Regions from separate parts of the Homo sapiens genome. Here region 2 is linked to region 1. The links are contacts of gene promoters, found by promoter capture Hi-C in human tissues and cell types (Jung and others, 2019). All regions are on one chromosome and are shown on one strand. The core of a region is centred on a gene start or on the middle of the fragment in contact, and the rest is flanking DNA. Distances in the headings are between cores, read along the strand shown.

The links. Contacts are between HindIII fragments. The study calls those that stand out against the background at their distance.
Region 2: a contact is called between a fragment that was not itself captured here and the fragment with the promoter of GJB1 in region 1, in 2 of the 25 tissues and cell types used here (adrenal gland and neural progenitor cells).

What each region holds. Positions count from the first base shown.
Region 1 is chrX:71,221,514-71,224,473 of GRCh38, forward strand. It overlaps GJB1 (gap junction protein beta 1), which reads left to right and starts at 1,711. Exons shown (of 2, transcript NM_000166.6): 1 at 1,711-1,822; 2 at 2,179-2,960. The coding sequence starts at 2,195. The HindIII fragment of the contact is 28,615 bases long and covers 1-2,960 here.
Region 2 is chrX:71,138,922-71,141,881 of GRCh38, forward strand. It overlaps MED12 (mediator complex subunit 12), which reads left to right. Exons shown (of 45, transcript NM_005120.3): 42 at 1,714-1,936; 43 at 2,309-2,449. Among named protein-coding and RNA genes, the nearest start is that of NLGN3, 4.4 kb to the right of the region's middle. The HindIII fragment of the contact is 7,777 bases long and covers 1-2,960 here.

The DNA of each region.
Region 1 (2,960 bases), core at 461-2,960:
TGAATATGAGGCTTCTTCCACAACCAGTTGCTCTGCTGTGGAGCATGCACTGGGGTCAGGAAATGACTCCAGGGATCACTGCACCTCCTATGGTCCAGGGCTGCATGTCCTCCTCACATTCAGTTTCCTGCTGCTAGTATGATCTCCTTGCAACTTAATGGCAGAAGTGGCAAGAGGTGGGAGAAGCCTTCTTAGCCTGCCTAAGGGATAGAGGAGAATTTCCTCCCTAGAGCAACTGGCAAGCTCCTGAAACCACGAGGTTGCAATATGCACTTGGGGTTGGGGGCTGGGCAGCAATGGGGTCTCAGACAGACCCTATAGGTCAACAACAGCATTGGGGACTGCTCAAGGTGGCTCACACCTGTAAACCCAACACTTTGGGAGGCAAAAGTGGGAAGATCGCTTGAGCCCAGGAGTTCAAGACCAGCCTGGGCAACATAGCAAGCCCCCCATCTCTACAAAAAAAAAAAATTGAAAAATTAGCTGGGCATGGTGACACATACCTGTGGTCCCAGCTAATTGAGAGGCTGAGGTGGGAGGATCGCTGGAGCCCAGGAGGTCAAGGCTGCAGTGAGCAGTGATTGTGCCACTGCACTCTAGCCTTAGTGATATAGCCAGACCTTGTCCCCACCCTCTAATAAAAAACAACCCACAGCATTAGGGAGAAAAAGGAGAGATCTTGGGTTTGACAGACCATTTATTCCCCCAAAGCAACTTTGTTATCTTTTCCTGAGAAGATTTTTTTTTTTTTTTGAGACGGAGTCTTGCTCTGTCGCCCGGACTGGAGTGCAGTGGTGCAATCTTGGCCCACTGCAACCTCTGCCTCCTGGGTTCCAGTGATTCTCCCACCCAGCAGCTGGGATTACAGGCATGCGCCACCACACACGGCTAATTTTTTGTATTTTTAGTAGAGATGGGGTTTCACATTGTTAGCCAGGATGGTCTTGATCTCCTGACCTCAAGTGATCTGCCCACTTCAGCCTCCTAAAGTGCTGGGATTACAGGCGTGAGCAACGGCGCCCAGCCTTTTTTTTTTTTTTTTTTTAATGGTTAGCCTTTGCTTTCTACAGACACTATCTGCAGAAGCACAGGGAGCCTGCTGTAGAAAGACTTCTGTCTCAGATACATTGTTTCATCCTACCTATCCTACCGCTTTGGAACGGTGTGACCTTGAGGAGTTACTTATCTGAGCTTCAGCTTCTTCATCTGGAAAATGGGATAACAGGCTTCCTAAATGGGTCGAAAGAAAAAATGTATGGAACAACGCTCAGCACAGTTTGTGGCTTCATAAATGAGCTCTCTTTCCTGTCCTCTTTCCTCTCCATATTCCGGAGAGGATCTAAGCCTCAGGGAAAATCCTGGTGACCTTAAGCTTCTGACGGGGCCATGGGGGAGGGCCTCAGCCCAGAGCCTCTGGGTCCCCTGGGGTCCCCTCTTCACATCCACCTGCCTGTGTTTTATCTCCCTCCCCCCGCCCCCCCGTGGCCATTCTTCTGGTGGGGCTATGGGGCGGGTGCGGCGATGGACCGGGCGGGCACAGAACAGGTGGGTGCAGGCTGGGTGTCCGGCGCTGGGACACAAGTGCTCTGTGTGTAGGGTGGGCGGAAGTCAGGGCGTTTGATCTGAATTCTAAAGGGCGTTGTTCAGAGCCCCACAAAGGTCTCATTGTGCAGACACTGGGTATAAAGCAGCATATGACTCCCCAGCACCGGGCGGTGATGAATTGGGACGCAGGCGCGGAGCCCAGGGACCACTCCCCCTGCACAGACATGAGACCATAGGGGACCTGTCTGGGTGGCCTCAGGGATAGGCGCTCCCCAAGGTAAGAGGGCTTTGTTGAGTTTGCCCCAGGTCTGGAGTTAAGGAGCTAGGGGACAGGGAGCCATAGGGGATGGCTGATATCGGAACAAGATGGGCTTGGCAAAGAAAGGGGCTGGCGGGAAAAGAATGTTGGATGAAAGCGAAGAAGGGGGATGGGGCTCAGGGAGGTCAAGTCAAGTGAGTGAGGAGGAGGAGAAGCTGGCAAGGGAGATGGGGTGACGAGGAAAGACATGACCATCCTTCCTTTCCTGCTACTGGCTCTTGGAAGAGTTGAGGGGGGGTGCGCAGGCAGTGCTATGGCGCCCGACTTTCCACCCCAGCTTTCTGACAGCTTGCTTCATGGCTGGTGTTTTGCAGGTGTGAATGAGGCAGGATGAACTGGACAGGTTTGTACACCTTGCTCAGTGGCGTGAACCGGCATTCTACTGCCATTGGCCGAGTATGGCTCTCGGTCATCTTCATCTTCAGAATCATGGTGCTGGTGGTGGCTGCAGAGAGTGTGTGGGGTGATGAGAAATCTTCCTTCATCTGCAACACACTCCAGCCTGGCTGCAACAGCGTTTGCTATGACCAATTCTTCCCCATCTCCCATGTGCGGCTGTGGTCCCTGCAGCTCATCCTAGTTTCCACCCCAGCTCTCCTCGTGGCCATGCACGTGGCTCACCAGCAACACATAGAGAAGAAAATGCTACGGCTTGAGGGCCATGGGGACCCCCTACACCTGGAGGAGGTGAAGAGGCACAAGGTCCACATCTCAGGGACACTGTGGTGGACCTATGTCATCAGCGTGGTGTTCCGGCTGTTGTTTGAGGCCGTCTTCATGTATGTCTTTTATCTGCTCTACCCTGGCTATGCCATGGTGCGGCTGGTCAAGTGCGACGTCTACCCCTGCCCCAACACAGTGGACTGCTTCGTGTCCCGCCCCACCGAGAAAACCGTCTTCACCGTCTTCATGCTAGCTGCCTCTGGCATCTGCATCATCCTCAATGTGGCCGAGGTGGTGTACCTCATCATCCGGGCCTGTGCCCGCCGAGCCCAGCGCCGCTCCAATCCACCTTCCCGCAAGGGCTCGGGCTTCGGCCACCGCCTCTCACCTGAATACAAGCAGAATGAGATCAACAAGCTGCTGAGTGAGCAGG
Region 2 (2,960 bases), core at 343-2,842, 83 kb before region 1:
GTTGAGGCCTTGTAACCATGTATAGAGACTCTGAAGCTTAGGATTAAGAACACTGGGGAGTGGGCTAACTGCCCATTGTGTGGCCAGCACTATACCAGGACTGGGTGAGGTGAAGAAAGATAGCAAAAAAAACCCCCACGATACATAGTTCCTCACTACAAAGAATCTTTACTATAGCTGGGGAGATGAGACTTATAGAAGAATATTGAGAGAACACTCTGAGCAAAGATATAATCAGGTATGCAGTTGTATGCTATGAGGTAAAATGTGGATTGAGAAAAAGTACGTGGTAATATCTGTGGGCCTGACTCATCAGAGAATGTTTCATGAAGGAGGTCAGACTTGAGTTGGCCTCTGAAGAATAGCTGTGATTGGGATTTGTGGAGAAGAGGAAAAGAAAGGGCATTCCAGGTAGAGGATGTAACGTGAACAAAGACATGGGGACCAGAATGAGGATGGTGCCTGGGGAGAAGGGCCTGGATGGAGTGTAAAATCTGTGCTGGGGAAGTCACTGGGGCTAGGCTAGGAGGGGGCAGGCTGAGAGATGGCCTTGAATGCTCAGCCGAAGAATTGAGACGCAGTCCCAGAAAGGGCTCTTTTGATCAGAAGAGTGATAGGAGGAGTTGGGTATGTTGCAAGGTTCCTTGGAATGAATGGATAGGATGTGTACTGGAAGGTGCAAGAAGAAGACTTCAGGCCAGGCACGGTGGCTCATGCCTGTAATCCCAGTACTTTGGGAGGCCCAGGCAGGCAGATCACCTAAGATCAGGAGTTCGAGACCAGCCTGGTCAACATGGTGAAATCCCGTCTCTACTAAAAATACAAAAATTATCTGGGTGTGGTGGCATGTGCCTGTAATCCCAGCTACTTGGGGGGCTGAGGCAAGAGAATCACTTGAACCTGAGAGGTGGAGGTTGCAGTGAGCCGAGATCGCATCATTGCACTCCAGCCTGGGCAACAGAGTGAGACTCTGTCTCAAAAAAAAAAGAAGACTTGAGACGGGGAGCCTGGCCAGTAGACTCTTGAAGTGATATACACATGTGGTAGAACAACTTGAAATGTTATTTGGGAACAACAACAGCAACAGCAAAAAACCTCAATGAGTGTTTATAGAATGCCTATCTTGTGCTAAGACTATTTTTTTCTTTTCTTTTCTTTCTTTTTTTTTTTTTTTTTGAGATGGAGTCTCGCTCTGTCATCCAGGCTGGAGTGCAGTGGTGCAATCTTGGCTCACTGCAACTTCCACCTCCCAGGTTCAAGCAATTCTCCTGCCTCAGCCTCCTGAGTAGCTGGGATTACAGGCATCCACTACCACGCTCAGCTATTTTTTTTTGTATTTTTGCTAGAGATGGGGTTTCACCATGTTGCCAGGCTGGTCTAGAACTCCTGACCTCAAGTGATCCACCCACCTTAGCCTCCCAAAGTGCTGGGATTACAGGTGTGAGCCACCGCACCCAGCCCTATTTTTCATTTTTGTAACAGAAAAATAGCTAATGCAGAATTGAAAAATTCCTAACCATTAAGGTTATGAGACACTAAAATAGAGTATCATCTTATGCAACTTATTCCCCAGACTGGAAGTCTGGTTAGTGACACGAGGAATGAATGAAATAACCTGCTAACGTTTCTTTCAGGTCAGGGACCCAAGGTTTATACTGACCCCCTCTCCTCACCTCCCTCATGCCTTGACCTCTGACCCTCTTATCTTTGGAGGTTTTCACACCAGACACTGCAGCAGACACCCATGATAAGTACCATGACTCCAATGAGTGCCCAGGGCGTCCAGGCAGGCGTCCGTTCAACAGCCATCCTACCTGAGCAGCAGCAGCAGCAGCAACAGCAGCAACAGCAACAGCAGCAGCAGCAGCAACAGCAACAGCAGCAGCAGCAGCAGCAGTACCACATCCGGCAGCAGCAGCAGCAGCAGATCCTGCGGGTAAGGCACTGGGATTTCATCTGGGACCTGGGAGCCCAGGGAGGAAGAGAGGCACAAGTTCTTCCCACACAGTTACCGAGACTAAACAAGGCAGTGTACCAAAACACCTAGCAGAGCGGCTGGCCTCTAGTGGTGCTGGAGAAGTTTTCTACCCTCCCCCTTTTTGTTTTCTGGGGATCATAGTGGGAGAGAGTTGGACATTGTCTGCTGGGTACCCTAGATTTGGTTTCTTTCTGTGCAGCTGTCTAAAAAGGGAAGGCAGTAGACCCCGAGCTCCCACCCTGCTTCCTCATCCCCTGCCCTCAGCCCTTTAGTTCTGAGGCTTAGCTTCCTCCCTCTGCTCCTTCTGAAGTATCTTTTGTGTTCTTATAGCAGCAGCAGCAACAGCAACAGCAGCAGCAGCAGCAGCAGCAACAGCAACAGCAGCAGCAGCAACAGCAACAACAGCAACACCAGCAGCAACAGCAGCAACAGGCGGCTCCTCCCCAACCCCAGCCCCAGTCCCAGCCCCAGGTAGCTGCTGGACTACAGCCCCAGGCTCAGGGACAGCTGCCCAGGTTGGGCACGCAGCCAGTGAACTGGGTTGGGGACAGTATGGAATAGGGTAGAGGTGGGAGGCAGGGCATGGCACCCTAAAAATGGATTGGGAGGCCAGGCGCAGTGGCTCACGCCTGTAATCCCAGCACTTTGGGAGGCCAAGGCAGGTGGATCACTTGAGGTCAGGAGTTCAAGACCAGCCTGGCCAAGATGGTGAAACCCCGTCTCTACTAAAAATACAAAAAATAATAATAATAAATAAGCCGGGCATGGTGGCAGGTGCCTGTTATCTCAGCTACTCAAGAGGCTGAGGCAGAGAATTGCTTGAACTTGGGAGGCAGAGGTTGCAGTGAGCCAAGATCATGCCACTGCACTCCAGCCTGGGGGACAGAGCGAGACTCCATCTCAAAAAAAAAAACGGATTGGGAAAGGAGGTTGAAGAAGGAGAAAAGTTCGACTTCAGTCTTCCACTTCCTATTTCCACCCA